Linked DNA regions of Homo sapiens: region 2 is linked to region 1. The links are contacts of gene promoters, found by promoter capture Hi-C in human tissues and cell types (Jung and others, 2019). All regions are on one chromosome and are shown on one strand. Each heading gives the region's core, a stretch centred on a gene start or on the middle of the fragment in contact. The rest is flanking DNA. Distances are from core to core; before and after follow the strand shown. Region 1 holds the start of GPATCH8 (G-patch domain containing 8). Region 2 overlaps EFTUD2 (elongation factor Tu GTP binding domain containing 2).

The links. Contacts are between HindIII fragments. The study calls those that stand out against the background at their distance.
Region 2: a fragment that was not itself captured here is called in contact with the fragment with the promoter of GPATCH8 in region 1 in 1 of the 25 tissues and cell types used here (small bowel).

The regions. Positions count from the first base shown.
Region 1 is chr17:44,501,015-44,506,462 of GRCh38, reverse strand. It overlaps GPATCH8 (G-patch domain containing 8), which reads left to right and starts at 3,057. Exons shown (of 8, transcript NM_001002909.4): 1 at 3,057-3,137. The coding sequence starts at 3,093. RefSeq lists a silencer at 2,774-3,123 and an enhancer at 3,224-3,323. The HindIII fragment of the contact is 22,919 bases long and covers 1-5,448 here.
Region 2 is chr17:44,894,620-44,898,767 of GRCh38, reverse strand. The region is part of intron 1 of EFTUD2 (elongation factor Tu GTP binding domain containing 2); the gene reads left to right. Among named protein-coding and RNA genes, the nearest start is that of EFTUD2, 2.8 kb to the left of the region's middle. The HindIII fragment of the contact is 4,028 bases long and covers 1-3,809 here.

The DNA.
Region 1 (5,448 bases), core at 1,808-4,307:
CTCCCGAGTAGCTGGGATTACAGGTGCACACCACCACGCCCGGCTAATTTTTTTGTATTTTTAGTAGAGACGGGGTTTCACCATGTTGGCCAGACTGGTCTCGAACTCCTGACCTCAGGCAATCCGCCTGCTTCAGCCTCAGCCTCCCAAAGTGCTGGGACTATAGGCATGAGCCACCGCGCCGGCCAAAAGTTCTTTCTTAAACTCAATATCCTTTTTTCTTTTTTGGCATCCCATGCCCCTTGATGCAGTCTCTTATTTCCTGATGTGTTCCCTTGTACCCTGATGTGATATAATGTCTCCGTGGATGTTGATAATTCTTTTGATGGTTTCTTCTGTTCCTTTCATTATCTCTGGTTCCTCTGAATTCGTTTTTTGGGGGAGGGGGGCTGTTGCTGTCATCATAGCTCACTGCAGCCTCCAAATCCTGGGCTTCAGCAATCCTCTTGCCTCAGCCTCCCAAGTAGCTGGGACCACAGGTGCATGCCACCACGCCTAGTTTTAAAGTTCTTTTGCAGAGTTGGGGTCTTACTACAATGCCCAGGCTGGGGGTGTTTCTATCTTTCCTGTTACAGGTTCCCTTCAAATGTCTGGCATTCTTTGGCTATCCATTCATAACAAGGCACTAAAAAGCTGAGTGAAAGGTCTGTGTGGATGGGGCTTCCTGAATGATGGACTTCTCTGTGGAGTATTTGGGCAGGAACATGATCTTTATGTAGGAAGACACCTCCCTACCCTCACTCCCATTGTTGGTACATGAAGCATTTTCTTCCCTAAGCTAGTCAATTTTCTAGAGAGGGTTCCTATGTTCTTTTGTTGGAGAAGTCAGACTCTCTGGCCAGAATGGAGGCTTTACCATATCCTCCCATTTTCAGCATGGTTGCTCCTTCTCACCTATAAAGTCCAGTCTCTCTGGTTCAGCCTTTCCAGAGGGAAAACCTCTAGTTTGCTACCTGGGTGGGAAAAGAGACATCGAATCATCAGTGGCACCAGGGGCTTCTACTTCCTGAGCCTTTCTGGTGCACTTTAGCATTGATCAACTTCTTTCCTGTCTTCTCCTACTCTATGACTTCTTTTTCTCCACTCTACTAAAGTCATTTCCATTTATCTGTGCTCTCTGGCCTCCAAAATGTTGACATCTGTTGTCTGCCATTGTCTCTTCTCCAGGTCTCTTTGTCCATGTGAATTTATGCACTTCTTATTCCTCTGCTGTCATTTCAGTGGGCTTTTGAGAGGAAGAAGAGGTCAGTGTGATGTGTATCCTCGTGATTCAATCTTTCACGCTACCCTTAAGTCTCTTTACAATGTTTGAGCCAGGCTCGGTGGCTCACGCCTGTAATCTCAGCACTTTGGGAGGCTGAGGCGGGCGGATCACAAGGTCAGGAGTTCCAGACCAGCCTTGCCAACATGGTGAACCCCGCCTCCACTAAAAATACAAAAAAAAAAAAAAAAAAAAAAGTCCGGGCGAGGTGGCTCACGCCTGTAATTCCAGCATTTTGGGAGGCCGAGGCAGGCGGATCACGAGGTCAGGAGATCGAGACCAGCCTGGCTAACACGGTGAAACCCCGTCTCTACTAAAAATACAAAAAATTAGCCGGGCTTGGTGGCGGGCGCCTGTAGTCCCAGCTACTCGGGAGGCTGAGGCAGGAGAATGGCGTGAACCCGGAAGGCGGAGCTTGCAGTGAGCCGAGATCGCGCCACTGCACTCCAGCCTGGGCGACAGAGTGAGACTCCTTTTCAAAAAAAAAAAAAAACAAATGAGCTGGGCTTAGTGGTGGGCGCCTGTAATCCCAGCTACTAGGGTGGCTGAGGCAGGAGAATCTCTTGAACCTGGGAGGCGGAGGTTGCAGTGAGCCGAGATTGCGCCACTGTACTCCGGCGACAGTGCGAGACTCCGTCTCAAAAAAAAAAAAAAAAAAAGAATACAATGTTTGAATTCTGTGTGCCCTGCCTCCCCTTAGATGGAAGCGTAGGCTGAAGCATGGGTGGGGCAAAGGGTAACAGCTAGAAAATACACACCCTTCCTCAAAAAATTACATTCCATTTGACTCTTTCAGGGCAGGGTAAGACCCATTTTTCCATTGTGTGATTTCTGTCAACTACTCTTTTCAAAAGGAGAGAAGTCCTGCCACCCTTCTATGTGTTTTATGTATTTTGGCTAAGAGTCCTGGAGCACTGGGTGAGGTCCTCAGAAGGGATGGAAAAATCCGATTCTTGACTCTCATAGTCAGCGCTAGGCAGGAGCATCAGAGATTACTGAATCCAATTTCCCTATTGTATAAAAAGGAAACTGAAGCCCAGAGAGCTTTAGTCGATCTGGATCAACTTCGGTCCCTTGTGAAATACTTCTCTCAAAGGATGGCTCGAAGTCAAGCTCCTTGCAGTCTTTGGGCCTTTGGGTCTAACGTTCCCTATGCCCCAATGCTGTAGGCTCCTCGCTGTGCCTCGGTCAAAGGTCCTTTCAGAGACTGTCCCTCTCAGCACTGTGGCCAGTTTTACTTTTTTGTGGCACTTGTTGATATTTAAAAATATTTATTTTACGAGTTATGTGAGTTCTTCCACTGGAATGAAATCCCCATAAGAGGAGATCATTCCTGTCTCGTTCACCGTTGAATCCTCAGGGTGAGCTGAGATTCGAAGCTAAGCAGTCTGGCTCTAAGGTCGCGCTTTCGGCCCAACATTATGCTGCTATTTAGTGAAGACGATGGACTTCTGCGCACACGGGGAAGCAACAGTGAGAAAAGACACCCGGAAGTGAGCAACAGCAAAACATCCAGATTTGTCCGCACGGTGCCCCCTCTGACCTTTCCCTCCGGAAGCTCTCGCGGCTCTCGGGCGGGAGTGCGCACGCGCGGCCACCGGGGTCGCTCCGGGTCGCGCGCGGAGCAGGGGCTAGAGGGAAGGGTCAGCCTCCAGGGCTGGCAGGCGCCTGCGCCGCGGGGCTCCCGTCAGGACGCGCATTCTCGCTCCCTCCCTCGGCTGCGCGCGCCCGGTGGGCGTGGGAGGAGGCGGGGAACCGGGGAGGGGTGGGTGTCGCAGGAGGGAAGGAGCGAACCGGAGAGCGTCGTCCTGAGAGGAGTGAAGGCGGCAAAATGGCGGACCGCTTCTCCCGCTTCAACGAAGACCGAGACTTTCAGGTAAACACGGGCGTCGCCGAGGATGCGGGGAAGGCGCTGGTCTAGCCCAGAACCTCCTTCATCTCCGGCTCCCAGCCCTCTTTCCTTCCAGTTTTGCTCCGACTTGCGAACCAGCTCGCTCTTCTCCCGTCTCTGCTTTCTCAAGAGGCCTCCCGGCTTGAGGGAGGCCGCATCTCCTCGCACCCGCATTCTCTTACCCCTGAAACTCAGGCCGCGGGGCTTGCGGCTTCCGCCTGTTTGGCATCGGATTTCGGAACCGGGCCTGAGCGCCGTGTGAGGGGCTGTGCCCTCCAGGTCTGCCCGATCTGTGCCGGCGAAGGGCTGGCTCCCAGGGGACAAGAGGGGTGGTTGGGTTGGGCTGAGAGGGCTTGGGGGAGAGTATTGCTGAGGCCAAGGCTTCCGAACCCCGGGATTTTGCTCTCACGGATCCTTTTGGGGTCCTTCTCTTTTCTTTCTTCACTGTGATAAATCAATTCCTTTCATTGTCTGCTTTTCCTCTTCCTTACCTGGGAAAAGGTTGCCTTCGCTATCAGACGCCTTATTGGTTAGTCATACATTGAGATTTCGCGGGGCATAAGTGTTGCTGTTATTAGGCTGTTAATTGGGCTTGGAAAGCAGTAAGTTACTGGACTATGATCCGATGTGAGCCTAACCTCAAATCCTATCTCGAAAGATTTGTGAGAAGCGTGATGATAATAGGCCGTCCACGCATGGGGTCACTAGTGCCAAAAGCTTGATTTTTCTTTCTTCAATTGCAAATGTTAGTATGGAAAAATGCCCTTACGATGGCAAGCTCTATTGAGTAAAAAATAAAGGCCAAATTAGAATAACTTGTTTTTTCGCTGTTGAAAATACCTTTCTGTTGAAATTGTTACCGCGGAAATCTCGAAGACTAAAAGGGATTTAGTAGAGATTGGCTATTTCTAGGTAAAATACATCCGTAGAGTCTCAAAAAAAAAAAAAAAACACTGCATTACTACCGCATATCCTGGCAACTGCAATTTGGGTCGGGATGAATCTCAGAACTCAAGTTTTTATCCCGCTGCAGATCCTACTCAAAGCAGTACGAAAGCACTCTAGATGTGTTTCAGAAGGCAGTTTAAAGAGTTTGAATTCCCTGAGATGATAGGATTGGTAAATAAATAGGTAAAGCAGTTTAACAATTTTAACTCAGCACTGTTAACAGTCTAGTACATAGAACGCTTATGAGAAGTTTTGCAGCAGTAAGGGATCTGGGGGCTGTTAAAAAGCCTTGTGATCATGCGCCTGCTGTATAGCTGCAGCACAATACAGGAGAGTCTCAGGATGTTCTAAGGATATAATGCAGATTCACCAAAGTTTGAAGCAGTTCATGTTAGCCTTTTGATCCCTGAGAAATATATATATATACACACATATATATATATTAGCAAGCACTATAAAATATGAGTTGGCTGCAAGGTGTATGAGCTTTATTGATTTTTAAATTACCGGTAGAGACATACTGATAACTAAAGCCCGCAAATGCTTTTCAGAGGAGAGAATAATCTCAAGGTGACCTAATAAAATCGAAAATAGATAATATGGACAGTTAAGTTTTGAGGGAAGATGACTGTCAACCACAGAATTCCAGCAGGCTTAGCAAACAGGATTTTCAGGGCCTTTAATGAAGATTTTGAAAATTGTGGATAGCAGAGTGTGAATGCTGTTTCCTGAAAAACATTCAGGGGGTTAGCCTGTACTTTTTCAATACTCAGTTTCCAAGTAAGATGACCCTGTCTTCTGATGCTTTAGTTGGGTATTGCAAAACCCGATTTTGGTTTCATGGTAGTCCTTTGAAGATGATACGTATACTTCATTTTCTGCTTATATGTTGAAAGAACCAACCCCTGTTAAATTGGGTCAGCCAGGAAAAATTTTTTTTTTTTTTGAAATGGAGTCTCGCTGTGTCGCCCAGGCTGGAGTGCAGTGGCACGATCTCGGCTCACTGCAACCTCTGCCTCCCGGGTTCAAGCAATTCTTCTGCCTCAGCCTCCCAAGCAGCTGGGATTACAGGCACCCGCCACCATACCCGGCTAATTTTTGTATTTTTAGTAGAGATGGGGTTTCACCGTATTGGCCAGGCTGGTCTCGAACTCCTGACTCGTGATCCGCCTGCCTCGGCCTCCCAAAGTGCTAGGATTACAGGTGTGAGCCATCGCGCCTGGCCGAAAATGTTGGTTTTTAAAATTCAGATGTCCTAGCATTTTGGGTAAATAGGGTATTGGGAATGGAAACCTTTTTAGACAGTTGTAAGATGTTAAAACTTTTATAAATTATGTTAACATTTCTA
Region 2 (4,148 bases), core at 546-3,045, 390 kb before region 1:
AATGTATAACATTTGTGAATAGCAATAAAACAGTGAAAGTGGGAAGTTGGAGAGTATGTATGGGGGACTTTTTAGAGTGACAGAGAAGATGACATTTTAGTGGAGACTTGATTGAAATAAAGGAACAAGGTGAAAAATATCAAAGGGGAGAGCGTTTTGGACAAAGAGAAAGGCAAGTGCAGTGGCCCTGAGGCAGAAATGAGCTTGGCTTGTTCCATGAACAGCTTTCTATAACAGTTTCTTCAATCGGCCGGGCGCGGTGGCTCACGCCTGTAATCCCAGCACTTTGGGAGAAAGACGCGGGCGGATCACCTGAGGTCAGGAGTTCGAGACCAGCCTGGCCAACATGGTGAAAACCCATCTCTACTAAGAATACAAAAAAATTAGCCAGGCGTAGTGGTGCACTCCTGTAGTCCCAACTACTCGGGAGGCTGAGGCAGGAGAATCGCTTGAAACCAGGAGGCGGAGGTTGCAGTGAACTGAGATCGTGCCGTTGTACTCCAGCCTGGGCAACAAGAGCAAAACTCTGTCTCAAAAAATATATATAAAATAAATAAATAATTTCTTCAATCCCTTGACTGGGGTCTTGGGAGAATGAGATAAGCATAAATGCGATAGTAGCTTTTTAGAAGTAAAAAGAATATGCATGTGAAAGTTTCCATAATAATTTACATTTAATTATTGGTCCTTGGAGCTCCAATTCTCTCTCTACATTCAGCACCCAGCAGGTGGCATTGAGGGAGTTGGAGGTATCAGTCTAATCCAAGAAATATCAGCATCTTAAAATTAAACATCCCATTCAGTTAACATTTATCCAGTTCCTACTTATGCAAGGTGCTGTCTTGGCTATTGGCTGTGTTAGCATTGGTACTTTTTTCTCAATTATTTAAAAATGTAAAATGTGGCCGGGTGCGGTGGCTCACACCTGTAATCTCAGCACTTTGGGAGGCCGAGGTGGGCTAATCACCTGAGGTCAAGAGTTCGAGACTGCCTGGCCAACATGGTTGAAACCCCGTCTCTACTAAAAATACAAAAATTAGCCAAGTGTGATGGCGGGTGCCTGTAATCCCAGCTACTTGGGAGGTTGAGGCAGGAGAATCGCTTGAACCTGTGAGGCGGAGGTTGCAGTGAGTCGAGATCGTGCCACTGCACTCCAGCCTAGGCAACAGAGCGGGACTCCGTCTCAAAAAAATAAAAAAATAAAAATGTAAAATGCATTCTTAGCTGGAGGACCATGCAAAAACAGTTGGAGGGGCCAGATTTGGCCACAGGTCAGAGTTTGTCAACTCTTGCTCTAAAGTATTAGGAGGTGAAGAGGCATTGTGTCAGCAGCATACTGTCAAATATTTGGGGAAAAGAAAGTTATTTGTACTGTTCTTGCCACTTTTTGGTATTATTTTAAAATTAAATTTAGTATCATAAAAGAAGTGAAGAGAAGAAGCAGGTGCATGGAACACAGGGTTCTCATGATCAAGGATGGCAAAAAATAATGCTAGCTAACGTTTATTGAGCCTAGGACTCTGGTAAATTCTTTTTTTTTTTTTTTTTTTTTGAGACGGAGTCTCTCTCTGTCACCCAGGCTGGAGTGCAGTGGCGCTGTCTCCGCTCACTGCAAGCTCCGCCTCCTGGGTTCACACCATTCTCCTGCCTCAGCCTCCCCAGTAGCTGGGACTACGGGCGCCCACCACCACACTTGGCTAATTTTTTGTATTTTTAGTAGAGACAGGGTTTCACCGTGTTAGCCAGGATGGTCTCGATCTCCTGACCTCGTGATCCACCCACCTCAGCCTCCCAAAGTGCTGGGATTACAGGCGTGAGCCACTGCACCCAGCTGGACTCTGGTAAATTCTTTACACAGGGTGTTTTATTTAATCCTCATAACCATTTATTCAGTGAGGATTATTCATTCCATTTTCCAGTTGAAGAATAGGAATCAGGTTGGAAGAGATGAAGTAACTTACCTCAAGTTACATAGTTGTTGGTGACAAAGTTGGGATTTGAATCTAAGTCTTCCAACTCCAGAGCCCTGATGCTCTAGTCTGTTATTTATTGCTTATAAACTATAGTTGGTGATGGTAATTAGTAACTACTATTTGTTTATTTATTTTGTTTATTTTTTTCGAGACGGAGTCTCACTCTGTCAGCCAGGCTGAAGTGCAGTGGTGCGATCTCAGCTCACTGCAACCTCTGCCTCCTGGATTCAAGTGATTCTCCTGCCTCAGCCTGCTGAGTAGCTGGGACTACAGGTGTGTGCCACCACACCTGGCTAATTTTTTGTATTTTTAGTAGAGACGGGGTTTCACTGTGTTAGCCAGGATGGTCTCTATCTCCTGACCTCATGATCCGCCCATCTTGGCCTGCCAAAGTGCTGGGATTACAGGCATGAGCCACTGTGCCCAGCCAGTTAACTACTATTTAAGACAAAATTAAATACTGATAAAGGTGCAAAAAGCTCTAGTAGGATAGAGGAATGAGAAATTGAGGAGCTAGGAAAGCTTGAAGGAGGTGGTGGCATTTGAACTGTTTCTTTGAATAGAATTTCAGTAATTGAAGTGGAGAAAACCCACAAAACACTACTTAATTACAAAGGGAAAATGAGTAACTTTACAATGGAGAGGCCTGGCAAACATCACCTTAATGAAGTGATCAAAGTTAACGTTACCACTAATGGGGCAAATTGAAATCATGTATCACCTGATACGAAATGCATTGAGAAGAACACAGCATCACTTCTATGATATTCCTGCCCAAAACGCATAACCTGAATATTATCATAAGGTAACATCAGACAACCTCAAATCAAGGGACATCCTTAAGGATTTCATGACAGTCCTTGGAAGGAAAGACTGAAGATTGTAGATCCAAAGACTGAAGATTGTAGATCCAAAGAGACTAGAGACATGACAACCAAATGCAAACATGATCCTGGATTGGATCCTTAGGTGTGTAAGGTATTATTGGAACAATCTGTGAAACTTGAATGGGATCTGTAAAGAAGGTGGTAGTAATGTGTGAATATCAATTTTCTGATTTTGATGGTTGTATTGTGGTTATGTAGGAGAATGTTCTTGTTTGTAGGAATTACACATGGTGAGGGAGAGGTTGGCAAACTTTTTCTATTAAGGACTGGATAATATTTTAGGCTTTGTGAGCCATATGGTTTCAGTCTCAACTATTCAACTCTGCTATTACAGTGTGAAGGCAACTGTAAATGATGCAAATGAATATGCATGGCTGTTTTCCAGTGAAACTTTTTTTTTTTTTTTTTTTTTGAGATGGAGTCTTGTTCTGTCTCCCAGGCTGGAGTGCAGTGGTGCCATCTCGCCTCACTGCAACCTCCACCCCCTGGGTTCAAGGGATTCTCCTATATCAGCCTCCTGAGTAGCTGGGATTACAGGTGTGAGCCACCGTACCCAGCTAATTTTTGTATTTTTAGTAGAGACAGCGTTTTGCCATGTTGGCCAGGCTGGTCTCGAACTCCTGACCTCAGGTCATCTGCCTGCCTTGGCCTCCCAAAGTGCTGGTATTACAGGCATGCGCCACCGCGCCCGGCCTCCCAATGAAACTTTTTTAATAGACACTGACATTTGAATTCCTTATAATTAATTTTCATGTATCATGAAATATTTTTCTTTTGACTTTTTCCCTGGCAATTTACAAATGTGAAAAAGCATTCTTAGCTTGAGGGCCATGTAAAAACAGCTGGAGGGGCCAGATTTGGCCACAGGCCAGAGTTTGCCCACCCTTACACTAAAGTATTAGGAGGTGATGAGCCATTGTGTCAACAGCTCACTTTCAAATAATTTAGGAAAAAGTAAGTTATTTGTACTGTTCTTGCCATTTTTTGATACTGAGTTGTTTTAAAATTAAATTTAGTATTAAAAAAGTGGAGGGAGGGGGACCTCCTCTTTTGGCTTTGGAGCGCCCCCCACGCCCCATCTCTGTACGGCGGAGCTTCTTCCTTCTGTCTTCTTTCTTCCTTCTTGCCTATTCAACTCTCTGCTCCTTAAAACCCAAAACAAGAAAAGTGGAGGGAAGACTACATAAATAGAGACAAGTAAGGCAGAGACTTGGGGAAAGTACTGGGCTTTGGGAGGAGCATTCAGTAGGTTGATGTCACTGGAGAGGAGGCATGTGAAAGGGGTATG